7 separate regions of the Homo sapiens genome follow, and all the other regions are linked to region 4. Evidence: promoter capture Hi-C in 16 types of primary human blood cells and fetal thymus (Javierre and others, 2016). All regions are on one chromosome and are shown on one strand. Each heading gives the region's core, a stretch centred on a gene start or on the middle of the fragment in contact. The rest is flanking DNA. Distances are from core to core; before and after follow the strand shown. Region 1 holds the start of ARSB (arylsulfatase B). Region 2 holds the start of LOC105379065 (a long non-coding RNA gene). Region 3 holds the start of JMY (junction mediating and regulatory protein, p53 cofactor). Region 4 holds the start of TMEM167A (transmembrane protein 167A). Region 5 overlaps HOMER1 (homer scaffold protein 1). Region 6 holds the start of TENT2 (terminal nucleotidyltransferase 2). Region 7 overlaps CCNH (cyclin H).

The links. Contacts are between HindIII fragments. The CHiCAGO score rates a contact against its expected background, and 5 or more counts as called.
Region 1: a contact is called between a fragment that was not itself captured here and the fragment with the promoter of TMEM167A in region 4, in 2 of 17 cell types (total CD8 T cells and non-activated CD4 T cells). The highest score is 7.8, in total CD8 T cells.
Region 2: a fragment that was not itself captured here is called in contact with the fragment with the promoter of TMEM167A in region 4 in 1 of 17 cell types (total B cells); the score reaches 5.2 in total B cells.
Region 3: a contact is called between a fragment that was not itself captured here and the fragment with the promoter of TMEM167A in region 4, in 3 of 17 cell types (total B cells, total CD4 T cells and non-activated CD4 T cells). The highest score is 6.3, in total B cells.
Region 5: a fragment that was not itself captured here is called in contact with the fragment with the promoter of TMEM167A in region 4 in 1 of 17 cell types (total B cells); the score reaches 6.7 in total B cells.
Region 6: a contact is called between the fragment with the promoter of TENT2 here and the fragment with the promoter of TMEM167A in region 4, in 1 of 17 cell types (total B cells). The highest score is 5.1, in total B cells.
Region 7: a contact is called between a fragment that was not itself captured here and the fragment with the promoter of TMEM167A in region 4, in 3 of 17 cell types (total B cells, total CD4 T cells and naive CD8 T cells). The highest score is 14.6, in total B cells.

What each region holds. Positions count from the first base shown.
Region 1 is chr5:78,983,603-78,986,479 of GRCh38, forward strand. It overlaps ARSB (arylsulfatase B), which reads right to left and starts at 1,708. Exons shown (of 8, transcript NM_000046.5): 1 at 1,335-1,708. The coding sequence starts at 1,646. RefSeq lists a silencer at 1,031-1,890. The HindIII fragment of the contact is 1,365 bases long and covers 727-2,091 here.
Region 2 is chr5:87,072,905-87,075,680 of GRCh38, forward strand. The region is part of intron 1 of MIR4280HG (MIR4280 host gene); the gene reads right to left. LOC105379065 (a long non-coding RNA gene) reads right to left here and starts at 2,365. Exons shown (of 3, transcript XR_948540.3): 1 at 2,173-2,365; 2 at 1,276-1,417. RefSeq lists an enhancer at 2,265-2,314. The HindIII fragment of the contact is 2,520 bases long and covers 152-2,671 here.
Region 3 is chr5:79,233,638-79,236,613 of GRCh38, forward strand. It overlaps JMY (junction mediating and regulatory protein, p53 cofactor), which reads left to right and starts at 2,494. Exons shown (of 11, transcript NM_152405.5): 1 at 2,494-2,976. LOC124901011 (a long non-coding RNA gene) reads right to left here and starts at 2,386. Exons shown (of 2, transcript XR_007058836.1): 1 at 2,174-2,386. RefSeq lists silencers at 2,396-2,445, 2,486-2,535, 2,566-2,976 and an enhancer at 2,948-2,976. The HindIII fragment of the contact is 528 bases long and covers 1,449-1,976 here.
Region 4 is chr5:83,075,897-83,078,719 of GRCh38, forward strand. It overlaps TMEM167A (transmembrane protein 167A), which reads right to left and starts at 1,498. Exons shown (of 4, transcript NM_174909.5): 1 at 1,425-1,498. The coding sequence starts at 1,427. It overlaps XRCC4 (X-ray repair cross complementing 4), which reads left to right and starts at 1,651. Exons shown (of 8, transcript NM_003401.5): 1 at 1,651-1,719. RefSeq lists enhancers at 614-1,579, 1,236-1,505, 1,580-2,545 and a silencer at 1,566-1,655. The HindIII fragment of the contact is 1,765 bases long and covers 717-2,481 here.
Region 5 is chr5:79,510,279-79,513,002 of GRCh38, forward strand. HOMER1 (homer scaffold protein 1) reads right to left here. Exons shown (of 9, transcript NM_004272.5): 1 at 2,492-2,724. The coding sequence starts at 2,496. It also overlaps the pseudogene RPL29P15. Among named protein-coding and RNA genes, the nearest start is that of HOMER1, 2.5 kb to the right of the region's middle. The HindIII fragment of the contact is 1,134 bases long and covers 759-1,892 here.
Region 6 is chr5:79,611,141-79,613,858 of GRCh38, forward strand. It overlaps TENT2 (terminal nucleotidyltransferase 2), which reads left to right and starts at 1,301. Exons shown (of 15, transcript NM_001114394.3): 1 at 1,301-1,935. LOC124901014 (a long non-coding RNA gene) reads right to left here and starts at 1,197. Exons shown (of 2, transcript XR_007058840.1): 1 at 1,002-1,197; 2 at 331-880. RefSeq lists an enhancer at 906-2,105. The HindIII fragment of the contact is 9,139 bases long and covers 1-2,718 here.
Region 7 is chr5:87,407,159-87,410,184 of GRCh38, forward strand. It overlaps CCNH (cyclin H), which reads right to left. Exons shown (of 9, transcript NM_001239.4): 3 at 2,132-2,205; 4 at 818-1,028. Among named protein-coding and RNA genes, the nearest start is that of CCNH, 4.3 kb to the right of the region's middle. The HindIII fragment of the contact is 6,127 bases long and covers 1-3,026 here.

The sequences.
Region 1 (2,877 bases), core at 159-2,658, 4.1 Mb before region 4:
TAGCAGCCAAGGTCAGAACCGCCAAAAGTACTAAGGTGGATGGTGAAGGGAAGCATCCTTTACTCCCATTTCTAACCTTGGCTACAGCTATTTCTCACCCTTAGCAACACCCAATCTTTCCTCTTTATAAAAGCCTTCAGACCACTGCGCATATCTTTATCACAAGTAAGCCCTCCCTTCTCTTGATCTTAGGACCACGTGAGGCTAGGGTTGATCTGACAGGTTATGCGAACACACACTTGGGAGGGCAACATTCAAATATATATCCCCTGTCAGTAGCACAGTAAGCTCAAAATATTTTTGTTGAGTAAACAGCATATGTACTCTGTGAAGGCATGCAGGTGGTATCCAACAGTTCCCATTTACTGTATTTAATATGGTCATAATAACTTCAGGGTCTTAGAAATATGACAATCGTATTCAGATTGAGGGGAAAAAAGGCCAATTTCATAAGCCCGGGACGACCAGTGGATGCAGGAAAAGCACAACGGACACTGCCTTGACCACTTTCTAGCTGTGCGATTCTTATGCCAACGAGCCTTTACAGGCTTCCTGCCTCGTCTGTAAAACGGGGTAAAAACAACTACCTCATGCACTGTTTCAATAATTCACTTTAAAAACAACAAAGTGCTATGCAAATGTTCTTGATATTCTTAGCCATCTAACATCTATGCACGCTCTACATTTATATTTCCTTCGTTAACTGTGGAGCCGTTCCTAAAGGGAAGCTTTTAAAGCGATAATGAAGATGCTCAGAAGAGTTCAATACAAGGTTACATGTGAAAGGAATGTCAGCAGCCTAAGAAAAATCAACCTAGCATCAGGTTTCATTCCAGGGGTGTTGAGAACCTGGAAAAAAATAATCTTTGGTGGGACACTCCTAACCTATCACCGCTGGGTTCCCACGGGCCAGGGTCGCACCCACGGCGAGCACCCCTTCATTTTACCTCTCCCCTCGTCTTTGCTCCCAGCCCACGCCCTCCCCAGCCTCCCACCTCAGGACCGCTCCGCCTGCCGGCCGCGGCGCCCAGCACCCGGCATTCCCATAAACCCCTTCGCCCGGAGCTTCAGAAAACGAAAGACAAAGCCACCCGCCCAACCCGGCGGCCGGGGCGCGGGTCCGCGGGGCGCCAGAGCCGGGCATGCGCAGAGGCCGCGGCGGGCTGCCGGCCTGGAAGAGCGAGGTTGGGGCGAGAAGCCGCCGGGACCCATAACTGGGTCGGCGGTCCGAGCCCCGCCTGCCAGCGCCCGCGGCCTCAAGGGCCGGGTAGGAGCGGCAGGGCGCCGGCGAAAGGCGGGGCGGGGGCGGCGCGGGCGGCGGGGGCGCCGCGTACCTGGTAGCGGCCAGTGAGCAGCTGGCTCCGCGACGGCGTGCACAGCGGCTGCGTGTAGTAGTTGTCCAGGAGCACCCCGCCGGCCGCCAGCGCGTCCAGGTGCGGCGTGCGGATGCGGGAGCCGTGGAAGCCGACGTCGTTCCAGCCTAGGTCGTCTGCCAGCAAGAAGACCAGGTGGGGCGGCCGGCTGGCCCCGGCGCCCGAGCCCGGCGGCGCCAACAACAGCAGCAGCAGCAGCGGGAGGACGACGGGGAGGAGCAGCCGCCGAGGTCCGGGGCCTCGGGGCAAGCTCGCCGCGCCGCGCGGACCCATCCTTGTCCGCCCGCGGTCCCAGCGCCTGTGGCGCCACCAGCCCCTTGTACCGCTGATAGAATGAGGAACTGGGCTGCCGGGGCCTGCTCCGCCCCGGCGCGGGACGGCACCCCCAGCGGGCCGTGGGCTTGCGAGGCCGGGCGCTCGGCCCCCGCCGCCTCCGACCCGGGCCCCCGGCTGCTGTGGCGGAGGAGGAGCCAGAGACGAACCCGCGGGCGCCCGCTGCCCGGCTTCTTGGAAACTCAGCTGACGCTTGGAGGGCACCAAGGCCCGTTATCTTCCCCGGCAATTAAATTTGCACTGTGGTTTCCTAAAAAAAAAAGATGTGTTCTTTAATAACGCTTCACAATTTACAAAGCATCTTCACAGCCCGCGTCTCCTGTAAAGCCTGCAACAACTCTGACAGTTAGACATTATAATTAGTGCCAATTTTTCATAAGAAAAAAGCTTATAAATGGTTAAACCTCTGACTCAGATCCTGAACCATGATGTCTAGCTAGCAAGTCATTTCTAGCACAAGAGCCCAGCCTGTGGCAGGTGGGAGGACGGTGAAAAGGCAGAGGTCTAAATAGCCTTTCACATTCATTTATGCGTAGTGTACACCCATGAAGCCGCTTCCTCCCCACTAGCAAACAGGAGGCCAAACACACAGTCTGATTGCACGGTGCCCTTTGGAAGGTGCGGTTACTTTCAAGTTGCCCTGGGAGGATTTGGAGTGTTGCGTGGTCATTGAATAAATAGCTCATTCGCTTGTCCGGATATGACCCCACTCAGAGCTGGCTCCCCCACTAAGCAGTGACACTAAGAAGCACACAGTATCTAGTTAGCCTGAAATATCTGAGTGGAAGGAAAAAATCCTTTAGTCACGTGCTTATTGAATTAGGAAGTTAGCCGTATGACCAGTAGATTCCCGTTGCCATCCAGACTTTCTGTCTACTCTGTCTGGAGATATTATAGTTGTTAACAGGTGTAGGGGAAAATTTTTGCATTGCCTAGAGACCATACCCTTCCAGGTTGAGTCTGATTCCGTGGAAGTTGTTTACAACTTTATAAGTTATAGATAAATAACAATGGAAAATAATTCTTATTTATATATACACAAATGAACTTTATCCAGCGGAGTAGCAATCCTTCCCCTCCACCACTACCAAGGAAAACAGTTTCACCTCCGCTTGCATATTTATTTTAGTATTCCTGATCTGTTCTTTGGATTGTCCTTTGAATTGGTTTT
Region 2 (2,776 bases), core at 162-2,661, 4.0 Mb after region 4:
TTAAAACAGCCAAAAACTAAAATACAATATCCATGTTGCAATCTGGTTATGCTTTGGAAGGATAAACATCTATAATAACCTTAAAATATTTTAAAATTATATAAAATAGGTGAATTATTACACTAGCAGCAGTAAAATTTCTTACCAGAAAAGCTTGATCTAACAGTTGAAAATGCCATTAGCCTTCATGGAAGACAAGAACATGCTCTCTACTTTGCCAACAAACATACAATATAAGTTTTCTTCTACAAAATAAATTCATATTTTGAAAAGCCATACTTCTGGAGCTTTGATTTACATTTCTGATGGTGGCGAATTAGGAAATTAGACTAAGCACATTAATGAATCTAGAGGATAGTCATTTTCAGTCCAATAATGATATGAAAGCAGTACCCTACCAAAAGATTATACCTAACTTCACATAAAACTTCCGATATTCTAGAAGATGGCACCAACATCTGCAACAGTAATAATAGTAGTGATCCTTTATTCAGCCTTAGTAATTATGTGCAAACTTTATATGCAGTTCATAACTGGCAATGGAAGTAAGACAGCATTTGTATAGTGTAAGATAGCAACCTGTCCATGACTGCCTTGGTCACAAAATCTCTGTGTCCTCTGCAGTTCCAGGATGAATATGAGTAACTGCAGTTGTGTATTTTACGCTAGTGAAAAACATTAAAATTGATGAAAAGGCAAATACAATGTGCTTAACTGATCCCTCCCCTCAAAAATCTAACCCTTGTGTCATTTTTTAAAATGGTTAAGAAATAGGTTGACTTTCTGTACAGCATGAAAATTTCTTTGGCTCAAGCCTCCACTAGAAAACCTAAGACAAGGTCAGGTGCAGTGGCTCATGCCTGTAATCCCAACACTTTGGGAGGCCGAGGCAGGCGGATCACGAGGTCAAGAGATCAAGACCATCCTGGCTAACATGGTGAAACCCTGTCTCTACTCAAAACACAAAAAATTAGCCAGGCGTGGTGGCGGGCACCTGTAGTCCCAGCTACTCAGGAGGTTGAGGCAGGAGAATTGCTTGAACCTGGGAGGTGGAGGTTGCAGTGAGCCGAGGTCGTGCCACTGCACTCCAGCCTGGGTGACAGTGCGAGACTCGGTCTCAAAAAAAAAAAAAAAAAAAAAAAAAACCTAAGACAAATCCTACTGGATAACACTGTCCTTCAACACATGCAAACCATGTGGTGACAAAGCAAAAATAAAAAAATCACTATTTGAAAGTGACCCCAATCAAGGCACCCAGACTCACTGGTTACTCACAGTTTTTTTTCTTGCCCTTCCGGTGGTGTACACTGTTTTCAGAAGGTTGACTATTCACTCTCCAATGGCATAAGCCTGTTGCATCATATCTACAGGTGTTACCCTGTAGATAACTTGTATCCGTACCTTTCAGAGATGTTAACTGTAAGGAAGAAACCTAAAAAATTCATTCTGATAGAATGACCCTCCATCAGGTCCAATTCTTTCTAAAGAAACCTCTCTTGTAGAGAGTGCTTGTGTGGAAAAGAAACAACTACATTCAGTGTATGCAGAAGTATGATCCTCCATACTTACTCTGAGCAGTCTACTTTTTCACTATTAAAGCTCCATCTGTACCTGATATTGCCTATAAGGTCACCACTATCATCTCCAAATTCAGACTTTTAGCTCGGTACAGCTCCAAATCCTCCTTAGAATAAGCAAGAGTGATTCCCTGAAGTGGCACCGTGAAACGATGTCAAAGCATTAATGTTCCTCATTAACATAAGATACTGGGGAACATTATTAAAGACAAACACATATGAACAACAAAAGGTAGTTCTCTGCCCCAGAATTTCGACTCCCTCCCTTACTCCATGCAATTTCAGCCAGTAAAGAGCTTGGCTTGCTTTTTACAAGCAGGGTCTCCCTCTATCGCCCAGGCTGGGGTGCAATGGTGCAACCATAGTTCACTGCAGCCACAAACTCCTGGGCTCAAATGATCCTCCCACCTCAGCCTCCCAAGTAGCTAGAACTACAGACACATGCCACCATGCCCAGCTAATTTTTTAAAAAAAAAACTTTTTGTAGACACAGAGTCTCACTATGTTGCCCAGGCTGGTCTCATACTCTTGGCCTCATGCAATCCTCCTGCTCAGCCTCCCAAAGCACTGGGATTATAGGTGTGAGCCACTCCACCTGGCATAGCTGGACATTTTTACTGTGCAAATACTAAATATTTGAGTCACCCCTACTACTTTCTCCTATGACCTGGACGATGCCAGCACTGAAAGGTAAGTGAGAAGTTTGAGGAAGTCACTGAAAACTCAGTAGACATTCAGGCCTTCATCTGCTTTTTCTTCCAATTGAGCTGGATCCATGGAGACAGAGTGAACAGCATTGGACAGGAAGCCAAACTTAGCTAGGTAGCACAGAGGTCTTAGATAAAGCAAACAAAGCAGGGCTTTGTGAGGTGACAAAAAGGAAATGAGCAAAGTCACACCCTAAGCCCATCCTCCAGGCAGTCCAGTGAGCAGGAAACAAAGCCACAAAACCAATGGCCCCAGTGTTGAGAATATACCGTACAGGTGGTCAAAAGGAAGTTCAAGTTAGGTTCTGCCTTTTAACCCACTTCAATGTATTCTAATTGCCTACAGTTGTACTCTAAGAAAATAAGGGAAGGGACTTCTTACTTTTAAGCTTATATTAAACATCACATATTCATATACTGAAGCTCTTTTTAAAAATAAAATGAGTCTAATCTTACAAAATGTTTTCTTATATTAACAAAGAAATCTATGAG
Region 3 (2,976 bases), core at 463-2,962, 3.8 Mb before region 4:
GGCTGCTCTTAAACTCTTGGGCTCAAGCAATTCTTCCAAAGCATTTGGATTACAGGCATGAGTCACTGTGTCCAGCCATCCAGCCAAAATATTATTATTTTTTATTTTTTTCAGACGGAGTTTCGCTCTTGTTGCCCAGGCACTGGAGTGCAATGGCACGATCTCAGCTCACTGCAACCTCTGCCTCCCGGGTTCAAACGATTCTCCTGCCTCAGCCTCCCGAGTAGCTGGGATTACAGGCACCTGCCACAACGCCCAGCTAATTTTTGGATTTTTGGTAGAGACGGGGTTTCACCATGTTAGCCAGGCTAGTCTCGAACTTCTGACTTTGCGATCTGCCCACCTTAGCCTCCCAAAGTGCTGGGATTACAGGCGTGAGCCACCGCACCCGGACTATTTTTTTAAATAATAATTTTTTTCTTTTTCTTGTCCTCTACTCTGAAGAGAACTTGTAAACAAATTCTTTTAATACTCATTCTCTGTATTCACAATTATACATAATGGGATCATGTCAGTAATGCTTTATCAGAAAAACTAGCTTTTTGCAGTTGCTTTTTAGCAAAAAAGAAGAGAAAGTTTTCTACAATGTGCTATTGTTTGCTTAGCTGGTAATTCAAACCTTTTTTCTTTTTTCTTTTTTGAGGTGGAGTCTCTGTCCCCCAGGCTGGAGTGCGGTGGCATGATCTCAGATCACTGCAACCTTCGCCTCCCGGGTTCAAGCAATTCTCCTGCCTCAGCCTCCCAAGTAGCTGGGATTACAGGCACGTGCCACCACACCCGACTAATTTTGTATTTTTTATAGAGACGGGGTTTCACCATGTTGTCCAGGCTGGTCTTGAACTCCTGACCTCAAGTGATCTGCCCACCTCAGCCTCCCAAAGTGCTGGGATTACAGGCGTCAGCCACCATGCCCAGCCCCGTAATTCAGATTTGAAATGGGTTTTCTCTCTTTTTTGCCTTTCAGAACGTGTCTCTGACTTGCATTTGAGATTTGACACAAACTCAGTTACAAACTTTGAAAATTTGTGGTTTCAAATAATGAACTGTACAAAATGTTAAAAACCAGCTGGGCTCAGTGGCTCACGACTGTAATCCCAGCACTTTGAGAGGCCAAGGCGGTCGGATCACCTGAGGCCAGAAGTTCGAGACCAGCTTGGCCAACATGAAGAAACCCCGTCTCTAATAAAAATACAAAAATTAGTCGGGCTTGGTGGTGTGTGCCTGTAATCCCAGCTACTTGGGAGGCTGAGGCAGGAGAATCGCTTGAACCCGGGAGGCAGAGGCTGCAGTAAGCTGACATCGTGCCACTGTGCTCCAGCCTGGGCCACAGAGTGAGACTCTGTCTCAAAAAAAAAATTTTTTTTGGCTGTTTATTCAAATATCAGGACAATACTGAACCAAGTGTTGAAGCTTAGAGTTTAAGATGGACAATACTGAACTAAGTTTGAAGCTTAGCTAGTTCAGTACTGTTCTGTCATCTGAATAAACAGCTGTTTTTACTGAACCTAACAATACAAGGCTAATCCAAACGGTTTTGTATATACTTTAGAAATGTGAATAAATGTAAAAGAACTAATTTCCATTGTGCTTTACTATGGTGCACAACATCTGTGACTTGAATACTAATCGGAAAAAGAATGCCAATAATTATTATAAAGTCTACTAATTTTAAGAATGTGTTTCATCATAGTTTAGTAAGAATAGCAGAGATTGATATGACTGTTTTTGTATATGCATTCTGGGAACTCCCATAATTGAATACAACTTCAAAAGGGCTAAAGCCCAGTGACCTCAAAACGAGGTTCACAGAACAGTACATAATGATGAAACCTGAAGCAATAAAACACCAATGAACTGAAATGTAAACATTCATGCTGTTAGGACATGGCATTTTCATTTTTCATTTTGTTTTGGACTGTTACTGGGCTTTCCTCAGACACCTTCCTTTCATATATTAAACTCTGTCTTTCCAGAAAAGCTTCTGGAATTGTTTTTGTTTTTTGTTTTGGTCTCAAGGGCATTAGGGGAGAACCTAACAGGCTGGGGGCGAGCCCCACATAGTTCAGCACACCGTTCCCCGCGGCAACACGCTACTTCTGAACGCAGGAGCGACTCTCCGTCCGGGCTCCCTCCAGGAGAATGGAGGCAAATGTACATTCGAGGGTCTCAATACCTGGAATTCGAAACGTCTCAGTTCCTCCGCCTTAGTTCCTCTTTTCCCGGGTTCGGAGGCCACCTGTGCAGCAGGGCACACCTGCCACTCTCATCGCCCTCGGAGCCGGCAACCAGCCGACAGCCGGCTCCAGCCCCGGGGAACTGGAGGCTGCGCGGAAGGAAGGAGAGTCGGGAGCGCGGCCGCTCGCGGGCTGGCTCAGGGGACGCCGAGAGGAGGCGCCGGCGCGCGCGGGCGGGGTGCGCGCGCCGCCGCCGCCGCGTCACCAGCGTGCGGCACGTGCCCATGTTTACGTCCCTCGTGGAGCCGCCGACGTCAGCAGTCGAATGGCAACATTGTGGCGATGCTGAGGCGCAGAGTTTAGGAGACGGGTTCATCAGTCAGGCCGGCTCCGGGCTTTCTGCAGCAGCACCAGGGGCGGGGGCGGGGATCTTGACCTGGGCGAGCGACCGGGACGCATACAGCGCCGGCCTGACCCCGCGGGACCCGCGCCTCACCACCGGAGCGCCGCAGACGCAGCTCCACGGCCTCGCGCGGGGGGCGGCGGGCGGCCGCGAGGCGCTGCGGCAGCGCGGAGCTTGTAAACAGATCCGGCCGCAGGTGACCATGTGAACTACCTGCTCCCGGGACGCTTATTGTCCTTCTCTCGATCCGCGCCACAAAGGAGCTCGGCGGTCGGGGCGCGGAGGGACAGGCGAACGAGCCGGGAGAGCCGGCCGGCGCACTAAGATGGCTGAAGGCGCCCGGCGAGGGTGAGCGGGGGGCGCGGCGCAGCCAGCGGGGAGTCCTCGGGCGGGCCGGGC
Region 4 (2,823 bases), core at 248-2,747:
CTCACTTCGTAGCTCTGCAAACAATGTACTTTTGACATCCCAAGCTCACAGGAATAAAAAACCACCTGCCAGTTGTTTCCGTTTTCCACCTATGTCTAATTTATGTACTTATATTTATAAGAAACAAATCACTAAGTCTTATTTCATCCTTAGTTATGTTGTGTTTCTATCGATAACAGCATGAAGATTTCGGGGACCTGGACATTAAAATAAGTTTGAGTACTGGCTTTACAATCTACTAGGTGTGATCCGAGGCAAGTCAGTCTCTTCATGTTTCACTTCTTTCACTTGTAAACATCTATTCAGAAGTTGCTGTGAACTTGATATTTCCATGCTTATAAACTGATTTTTTGAAAAGAGCCTGGTACATAGGACGTGATAATAAATGAAAGCATTTGCTACTTTTGGAAAAACAAGCATGACAAGATAGTTTATATACTGTTGATCTTAAGCACAGTATATGCATCTTATTTTTAGCTAGTCTGACAGTGAGATAATAAAAAGAGTTATCTTTGACTTGCACTACGAGTAGAAGAATTCAACTTCAGTTTCTAGAAAGATGTATAAGAATTAAGAGTGGCAGTCTTCCTAGTCTCAACTGCCATCTTCCCACCAGGTGGTAAATTCGTCCAGAGAAGAAAATGAATTATTGCTATATGGGATTCTGCAGCAACTTCTGTGAACATAGGCTCATAATTTTTCACCATGGAGACTCAAGCTTTTTGGAGTCATAGTTGTTTTTGGGTCTATTTGCAGGCATGCATCCTTTGTCCAGAAATATACATAACATTTGGCACATGGACCTGGAGGTAAAAGAGGAGGAAGGCCTGAGGCTAGACACCACTCCAATAAGTACATTAAGCTCCTAGAAGGGCAATCCACCTTTGCAGAGAACTCTTAACTATTAAAACCTATAGCTTGTAAAGCAGCATTTTCAAAGTTAAGAGAAGAAGGTGGAAGGGTCTTGAGAGGCTACTGACTAAACAGATGAAAATGAAGGTATGGAGTTTGGTGCCAAAAGAAACTCCCCCCAAAAATCAAACAATAACACCAGAGTAAAGCCCCTAGGGCGAGATAAGGAGTTGCAACAAAACAAGCGGAAACTCGAGAAGCGCTAATGCTTCAAAGGGTCAATGACCACACATAATCTACGTAGCCAACGTGTTAAAACACACCAACGCATTTTTTTTTCCTAAACAAAGTAGGAAAGCGGACTTTGCATGAGGGGCGGGCTGCCGACCCAGCAGTCTTCCTCGGACAGTCCGTCCTGATTCTCTCTGGTTGGCCGTGGAGGGACCACATGGCTCCAAGGCCTCTCAGCTCCGGGCCCACACACCCCGGGCTGCCGCACAAACTCCAGCCCTAGTCTAGATCCACAACCCCTTCTCGAAGATCAACCGCGACCTGGGAGCCCCACTTCTTACCATAGCGAGGCCGGCGATGCCGCAGCCACATCACCCTTCCGGGGCTCAGGCGGAAGAGGCTGCATGTCCCGTCTGCCCTTCTCGCCCTCTCCAGCCGTCCGGTTGGGCTTGTCACGGCACCGCCTACCAAGACGGGCGGTTAAGACACTAGGATAGGCTCCTCTCCACCGGAAAAGGCGGGATTTAGATCACGTCCCGCAGGCCGGCGGAAGTAGCTGATACTCTCATTGGTTGCAAAACCTTGATCTGTGAAAGCGGGCGTTTTGGAAGATACCGGAAGTAGAGTCACGGAGAGGTAGGATCCGGAAGTGGGGCTGCCTCTTTAAATAACAAAAATCTGAGGTTCTGTTCTTTTTATCTTTTTGCTTTCTTTTTAAAAAAGTTCCCTGCTACTTACCCCTAGAACTCCACAATGCGAGAATCCCCCTCAATTTGTGAGCTCCCGCGACTTCCTCTTGTGGGCTTTTGGGGATGCTAGGGTTCTCGGCATTATCCTCAGGGTGCGACCTGTTCACCCCCTTTTCAGTTTCTCCGTTTGCATCTGAGGGATTCTTGGGAATGCGAAGCACTTTTGAAATGCTCTGTGTTGGTTGTGGGATTGGGAGGACGGTTGAATCCAGAGGGTAGTGTTGAGTAGGCTGTTTGAGCATTTCCCCAGCACTGGCCTGTCCTTTCAATCCCCAGATATTGGTAAACTGTGGGTTCCAACCAGGCATCGAGGCTGAAACGTACTAGGCAATTTGAGGTCAGGAAAGAACTTTCTGTGGTAACCAATGGGAAGGAACTGCCGTTTGCGGACTGCAGCGATTGATTAGGTACTTTAAAGAGATCAACTGGCAAGACAAATGACAAGGCAACTTTTAATCAGTAGTAGTATTTAGCTTTTTCTGATTTTAATTATCCCATTAGGTGAGGTTCTACTACACACACACGTTTTTCTTTCTGCATTTTATCGATGGAGAAACAGGCGCTTTGACATGTTTGAATTTGCGTAGTTCTTGGAATTCTAATAAAGTATTAGAAATGAGAGTTTTTCACTCTTTGCCCCCTTATGGCAAGCTTTTGGTTCTAAATGTGTGGTGTATTTTTTCTCAGGCAGGAGAGAGTTCTTTTCAGAATGTTTTCAATTTTTTATGGACTTAGAAGGTGGATAGAGAGAAAGAGAGAAGGTAACTCACGTGAGATTTTGGTTTATGAACTGTATTCGGCCTATGAGACCCTTTTGTATTTAGGGCAACACAATGATTAGAAGATTTGGGATTCTGCTATTTGTGTTTACATTGTTCACTAGGGCACACAAAGGTTTTGTTTTAAACTATAACTAACTTGATATTTGAGTCTGTTATATTGAATTGTCAAGAGTTGGTCAAATACACAAATTAGCAAGTATTTACTGGGT
Region 5 (2,724 bases), core at 76-2,575, 3.6 Mb before region 4:
ATTCATTTATAAACAAATTAATTATGCTAAGTGTCTAAATGCATGTTATGTGTGGTGCTAACTTTCCCACTTTAAACAACAGCCCCCTTAGTATTAAATTCATCCTGTCTCTTCAGATTCTAGGCGCTTCAGGAGCCGCGCCTTAAGGTGCAGACATGGCCAAGTCCAAGAACCACACCACACACAACCAGTCCCAAAAATGGCACAGAAATGGTATCAAGAAACCCGAAGCACAAAGATACGAATCTCTTAAGGGGGTGGACCCCAAGTTCCTGAGGAACATGCAGTTTGCCAAGAAACACAACAAGAAGGGCCTAAAGAAGATGCAGGCTAACAGTGCCAAGGCCATGAGTGCACATGCCAAGGCTATCAAGGCCCTCCTAAAGCCCAAGGAGGTTAAGCCCAAGATCCCAAAGGGTGTCAGCCGCAAGCTCAACTTGCCTACACTGTCCACCCCAAGCTTGGGAAGCATGCTCGTGCCCGCATTGCCAAGGGGCTCAGGGTGTGCTGGCCAAAGGCCAAGGACAAGGATCAAACCAAGGCCCAGGCTGCAGCTCCAGCTTCAGTTCCAGCTCAGGCTCCCAAAGGTGCCCAGGCCCCTACAGAGGCTTCAGAGTAGATATCTCTATCTGCCAACGTGAGGACAGGACTGGTGCGACCCCCCGCCAGGCTGCCATCTGCATGGGGCTGTGGGGCTGGGGTCCTCCTGTGCTATTTGTACAAAGAAACCTCAGGCAGGGAAAAAAAAATTCATCCTAAGCTTCCCTTGGTAAAATGACAGGCATTCATGCAGCTTAAAGGTTCTGGAAAACTGATTTTCTTCCATGATGCTACTACTCCACAGTCTAGACAAAATGCAGCCATCAACATGAAAAACTGCTGCTTGATTTTTTTTCCTCCAACATGTTTTAAACAGAGCTGCAGATGCTCAAGGGAAGCCATATTTCTAAGGTTTTGAACAGTAGTATTTTTCAGTATTTTTCTCATTTAAAATTGGTGCAATTCATCCAAAACATTTTTCAAATGCCATTATTTTTCAGCGTTAAGCGCTTAAACTGCTTAGAGTGAAAAAGGTCTCCATCAGAAAGATCGACTTGCAGAAACCAACTAGTGATCATTAAAATGAGGAGGAGAATAAAAAGAAAGCAATTCGTTTTTTACAGTTTGGAGAAATCTTTAAGTCATCTCTAAATCGTTCATTTTACAGGTAAGAAATAGAGTCCACAGAGGTCAAGTAATTTGCCTCAGATCACTAAGCTACTAATAGCAGCGCTAGAAATAGAATGAGGTATTTTAATTACTCTTAGCGGTACCCCCAAATCATGCAAGTTATATATATTCTCATCACTTGTCATTCAAGTTTTTAAAACCATTATAACTTTGTCATTAATTTCTGAGGAACGTCTCCTACAACATGCTCTAAATTTTCAAAGTTATGCATGTTAAACTTCAAATTCTAACTCCAAAAGGAAGGTACTATTCAAGAACTTTCCTCAGAAAGTTTCAAGCGTGTGTACACACCTAAACCATCACGATGAATTGCAGAGTCCATTCTTTAAAACATGCCCCTCAACTACACTTCAGATGTGTTTGTTCAACCACACACACACAAAAAGAGAAAATTCTGGAAGTTCTTCTGCCAAAAAGCAGTGACAACCTGTCAATGAAATCAGATTGCTCCATTAATATATTATGGGTTTCCAGCTTAAATTAGGAAGTGTCACTAGCATTTCATCAACCCACAGTGTGAAGAGTTAATAAAAGACTGGAAAATGCACTCTCAGTTGGCTCTGGGTCCGAAGGAAGGTGTAGATCTGATACTGTTAACTCAAACTGAAGGGCTGAGCTTAAAAGCGAAAAACAAAAGGAGTGAACAAGTTCCTTAAACAAAAAGCTTTTTCCTACGAAATGCACCCGTACCGTGGTGACCGCATCAGTAAGACTGAATTTCAGATTTTCGTTTTAACGCCCCAGTAAATCAATTCTATACATTTTAGCTTTGAATATTCAAGGACAAGACAGAGGGCACGGTGAGGGCAACAATTTACTCTGGATCACTTTCAAGGACTGTTGTCTAACCACTCATTAAAATCGTTCCTTTGTGCAACTGATTATCTAAAAGTACTGAGAGAATGCAGTACTTCTCTTTGAAAGATAACCGTCAGCAAAAGCTAAAATAATGTGATTTTGATTACAAACTGATGCAGCAGTCTGACCAGTAAAGTGTAGAATGCGTTGTCTTTGTAAACATTACTCACAAATCCATATTCAAGTTACAAACGATATATGTGTTTTTAAATTATGACCTCTGGTACCGCTCTACAAAAATGCAAAAATAACCTAAAAGGTTAGCATGCCTATTTCTTTAAAGTATGACCAGCTTAGCAAGGTGGCAAGTTTGTTTGAAAACACAAAACACAATCACCACCACCGCTCAATAATACACATACATAAACAGATTCGAAGCTGTGTTAAGCACAAAAATCCTTACCCCATTTTGCCCAATGAAAACTTGCTCTGAAGTTTCAGCTCTTATGCTACGGAATAACTTCCAAAGGAATTTCTCCGTCTGCTATTTCGCAGTTGCTTTTCCACCCCCACCCCCAGATCCTTGTCCGGAGGTATTTCAAGGATGCTGCCAATTCAATTAGTTCTCTTAGGTAAAATGATTTCTCTCTTGTAAATACCAAAACGTTCAAACAGAGGCGGCATTTGCTTATTCGA
Region 6 (2,718 bases), core at 51-2,550, 3.5 Mb before region 4:
ACAATATATCAAAATATGTGGAATGTAGCTAAAACAGTATAGAGGGACACTTATCACACCAAATGCCTGTACAAACAAGAGACATCTAAAATTAATGGTCATCAGTTTCTGAGTTAAGAAACTAGAGAAACAAAACAAGAAATTTAAAAATTAAAAAATAGCAGAGTAAAGGAAACAATAAACATAAGAGCAGAAATCAATAAAATAGAAAACAGAAAACCAGTAGAGAAAATCCAAGAAAGCAAAAACGGGCTTTGAGATTTGAGATCCGTAAACCGAGAAGCCCCTCACCAGATCGATCAGAAAAAAAGATGACACACAAATTACCAATTTCAGAACCTGAGGGGTCAGATTTTATAGACATTAAGTGGACAATAAAGGAATACAGCTAACAGATTTGCATTATTAAACAATTTAGACATTTCTACAAATTATTAAAGCTCACTCAAGAGGCGATATCAATAAATATTTGTTGAATTAGTGAATACCAGCTATTACTATGGGCAAGGCGCTAAGTCCAGGCTTTAGAGAGAAAGAAAGCATTTTTTTTTTTTTTTTTTTTTGAGACAAAGTCTTGCTCTGTCGCCCAGGCTGGAGTGCTGTGGCACGATCTCGGCTCACTGCAACCTCCGCCTCCCGGGTTCAAGCGATTCGCCAGCCTCAGCCTCTTGAGTAGCGGGGTTACAGGCGCACGCCACCAAGCTCGGCTAATTTTTGTATTTTTAGTAAAGATGGGGTTTCACCATGTTGGCCAGGCTGGTCTCGAACTCCTGACCTCGTGATCCGCCCGCCTCAGCCTCCCAAAGTGCTAGGATTACAGGGGTGAGCCACCGCGTCCGGCCAAAGAAAGCATTTTCCTTCCAAAGAAGCTCTCAGGTTACTGGAGGGGCAAAAGAACAGATAAAGTTTAATGTTGCTCCGGGGGAGAAGATTAGGGGAACACTGGTTAAAGAAAGGCTTCTCTGGGGACAAGTCACTCGGCCAACACACGAAGGACCCACAGAAAACGTCTGTTACAGCTAGAACGGCTGCACGTGAGTTCAGGCAAGGGGCCCAGAAGTGGCCCTCCGGCGACTGCCTGCTCCACCCCTCTTAGTGCAGTCCTAACCCTTTCCCAACTTGTGCTGGCAGCAGTTAAGAAACTCCTTTCAAATCCGGCTGTCTTGCGCCTGCGCATTCAAGCAAAGCGCTCATAGGCGGGGTGGGGGGGGTGGGGGGGGTTGGGGGGTGGGGGGGGTTGGGGGGTGGGAGGGAGGCGGCCACCGGAAGTGTGACCTTTCGCTCCCCGCTGCCTATTCTCATCCGGGGTCACGTCGGTCTTCCGGGTGTCTTTGACAGGGTTTTCTACGCCGCTTTTTCGGCGACTTTTTGCTCTTCCGCTTTTTGCCACCGCCCCCAACCTTCTATATCCTTGCAGCCCCTACCTTTTCTTGTGTTGCTCCTCCCCTGGCAGCCGTGAGGGGGGTTAGATCTCAGCCGGAGCCGGAGCTGGGCCTAGCTGTCCCACGGGCCACCACTACCTCCTTTGGTTCGGGAGAAAGCTACGACCAAGTACGCCCAGCTCGGGCCTTAGAACTTCTGAACGGGCAGTGCGGGTAGGCCCTGCTTAGCCCTTCCCGGAGGACACCTGTGAGTTTAGGGGGTTTCGGAGAGGAACGCAGCAGTGTAGGCCCAGGTCGGCGGCGGGGCACGGGAAACTTTTCCGAAACGGTAGCGTTTTGTTTTGCGTGGGAGGTTCCAGCAGTATCTCTTGGTTATTCCAAATTTATGGGCGGCATCTGGGCTGCTGTACATTTTGAAGAATCTTAGGACCGCTTACTTTGCTTACTCGTTTTCTATTCCTCGCGTACTGCCTCGTCCACCACTCCAGGACCAAAAGAGGAAGATAGTCTTGGGACCCTTGCATGGTGTTTCAAAGGGTGGTGAAGAACTAAGGTACGTAGCTGGATTAATTAAAAAATTTAAAAGGCATTTATCTTTTAAGCCTTAATTAAATGGCATGAAATTGCTTCAGCTTTTCACTTTATAGGAAAATGCACAGGTTAAGACTGTTGTGTGCGTTTCTTTTCTTGTTCAGCCTTTGTAGAAAAGCTCTTCGTCTCTCAAGGTGAGAACACGAAAGGCTTATATGTCTCAAAACTTATGGATTCTCTAAATTACTTGTCTTATCTCTTTCAACTCTTTGTTTAAAGTAGCAGATATTTTTCATTAGGGTGAACAGAGAAGAAACAAAGGGAAACTGTAAAACACAAGCTAAATAACACATGTGCAGTGTATGATTTTGTGAAGAAAGAGATTGTAACTGATTACTAAATCTGTGTTTTTATATTACAGGTAACATAGTAACTTTTGTAAATATCTTCATATTGTATGGTTCAGTACCACCAGGCTTCTAACACGTACTGATTAACAGCCATAAGGCTATTAATTTATACTGATTAATAGCCAGTAATAGTGACGTTACTTTGTTGGTGTGAATAGCCCTAATTATGTCTGTTCTGGAAATGTCCTGTAACAGGTTCCATGTGAAATAGGCCGTTTATGAGTTGTTTAAGAAATGCCCATTTGGAGCCATGTGACTAGATTATTTTTTTGAACACTTGGGTGTAATTTAATTCTTAACCAAAAGGAATATCCTGTTCAAAACCTGGAAGTAGTTTTCACAGTGGGTTGGCAGGATTTAGGAACTGGATTTTTCGTATTGTGGAGAAAAGTGGG
Region 7 (3,026 bases), core at 219-2,718, 4.3 Mb after region 4:
TGAATTTTATTTTAAATGATACGTTCTCAGAATGTTTTCCTTACCCCTTAATCTGTTATCTCCCTCTAAAATATATTTTCCCCTCTGTATCATTGAGCACACTGGATATATGATTGTCTAAAACCTTTAGATTGTAAGGTTCACAAAAGTTGAGACTGTTCCTGTCCTATTTCTGGTTACATCCTCAAGCACAAAGTTTGGCACATAGAAGGTACCCAAATTGAGCCACTGATCTAACATGAATGAACCAATTCCTGATTTGATTCGACTCAGACTATCCAACTTCTCTTTTAGAGCCAAACAAAACAACTTAAAAAAGTTGCTTTTGTCAATGTTTGTTTACGTATATTATTGATGCCTACATAGTGACTTAAGTTCACAAACCTCTAAAAATATAAGTCACTTAGCAATCTTCTAGTTTAAGAATTTTTTATGGTTTAAATCAGGCCCAGATCCATGACAATATAATTCAAAGTTAGAAGAGTTATCTTAAGCCTTTATAGTAAGCACCGTTCTAAACTCTCAATGGTCTTCATTACATCCCTGGATGTAATGAAGATCACTTAAATGAGATTGCAGATCACTTAAATCAGAAACTCTGTAAGTCCCACCCAACAATCTCAGTTAACAATTTCTCCAGATGACTGATGATGCCCACTGAAGTTTGAAAACAACTGCCCTAGATGACCAGGCCAGACCCACAGGTTGTATCCATGCTATAACAACGAGGATGATTATGAGTTTTAAAATTTTGGATTCTTTTGTTAAAGAATAGGAAAGGAGAATGTAGTATTAGTTTATTTTACATCAAGTTTACCTTTAAGTCGATGAGGAAGCCCTCAAATGGTCTGTAAGGATTGTGGACAATAAGGTGGAAATTAAGTTGCTGTATAAGAAGTAGTTCATATTCCAGTATCTGTTCAAGTGCCTTCTCCTGTCCAAGAGGACTCTCCCGGAGGTTTCCAACAAACTGAGGACTAGATACATTGAATTCATCTACTTTGCAGGCCAAAAATGCACAAGTGAGCCTAGAGGAAAAAATAAGGAGGCAGGAGGCAGGGGGTGGGTGGGGTGGAAGAACATGCATATACTTTGAGAAGTATCTAAATAATTTATTTCTAAAAGTATATTCTATAATTGCCTAATATTCAAAAGCGACTGCTAGACATTGCAAGAATTGTTTTTTAAAAGACACTTCCTGTTCACACTTCATTAGGAGACGTAAGACAACTATAAAATTAGGTCAAACCAATATTGCCATGGCATTCAAACATCACTGACTCAATGACAGTGTTATGCAGTACAACCTAAATATCTGGAAAAACAAATTAACTGAGGAATAAGAGTACTTTGTATAATGTAGATGGAAGAGTTAAAAATAAAGCAGTACCCACATATGTACCATGTAAGTATGGGAAGAAAAGTAGGTTAAAGGAACATTGTGGAAGGCCATCGGCAGAAGTCTCTAAGGGCATCTGAATAAGGGACTATTATTTAAGGGACAAACTTGTGAAATTCACCTGGCCACTTCATGCTGTTCAGTATGAGAAAACAGTAAGAAAGCTACTGTAAAAAACAGTTGGCAGTGAGATCAAGGGCCTAATCTTGACTGGTGGAAATGGGAATCAAAAAAGAGAAAACAGGTACAATGTCATTGAGAGCAAACTCTTTGATGAGTTTCATACTAATTTCATTTTTAATGATAGACACAGCGCTCAGCAGAGAGCAGCAACAACAGACCTTTGTTCAACTGAAATGAGTATGAAGCTATAGGATCCGTAAACTGACTGGATGTGGGAGGGGCCACTATAAATGATTCTCAGTCTGAACAACTGGAAGAACAAAGGTGTCTAATAGGAAGAGATGTTAGAGAAGTAGCTAATTTGAGAAAAACAAAATTTGAATCTGGACAAGCTGAAGTTCACATACCATCAGAATTACTGAAGTACAGGTAAACAGAGATCTCAAGTTCTGAATAAAAAAAAAAAAATAGAATTCAAGTCTAAATTACCCTGTATTAGGAAGTCAGTTCTCTCTCTCTCTCTCTCACAATTCTCTCCTCCCAAAAAATACTCAAAAGATTATAAAGGTCTTCTTAAATGAAAACAATATATTAGACAGACATACTCACATTATTATCCTGGGGTGATATTCCATTACTGAGTTATTAAGATAAAAACGTTTGAAATACATACAAGCCGTACCCTAAGGGTTAAAAAAAATATATCATCAGGATCTAGTCACAAATGTTAAATGTTAAATTTTGTGAAACAGAACTTATTTATGGAAAGGTTTCTTTGTAGAGATTACCCAGAAAAATACTAATACTCATTAATTCTTCTTTAATCAAAACAAATTGTGATGAATTACTACAGAAATGCCATAGCCAAAAGATTCTTTCCCATCCTTTGCTTGTCTATCCCCAGCCTACTCTGGCTAATCCTTCCTATGGTCACTGGATTTAAAAATACGTGTGTGTGTGTGTGTGTGTGTGTGTGTGTGTGTATTAGAAATCAGACTATCAAAAATGTTCTGAATTAGATAAATTCAGGAAGAAAAATACAAACGTTCACAGATTAACCAATCTTATAAAAATACTGACAAAAAAACATGGGCAAGGCAATAAGCCTTCTCTCTAAAGCCACTCCATATTTGTGATATAACCATGTATCCATTCCATGATTTGTGATCACTGCTGCCAACTGAATGGCAGAAGCAGCACTACCATTTATTGAATGTATACCATGTGCCAGACTCTGTGCTAAACACGAAACTATCATCATGTTTTAATCCTTACAACAGCTTGGTGAAGTATTACTATCTCTACAGAGAAGGAAACTGAGTATCAATGAGGTTAACTGACTTATCTAGGTCACACAGCTAATAAGGAACAGGAATGAATTCAAGTAAGACCTGCCTGTACTTTTAACCATTATATCATTTGGCTGGAACCAATGAAATAACCACTTATCTATTTTATGATAGAAAAAAGAATATTTCCTTTTAAGTATTTTAAAAGTTTAGTT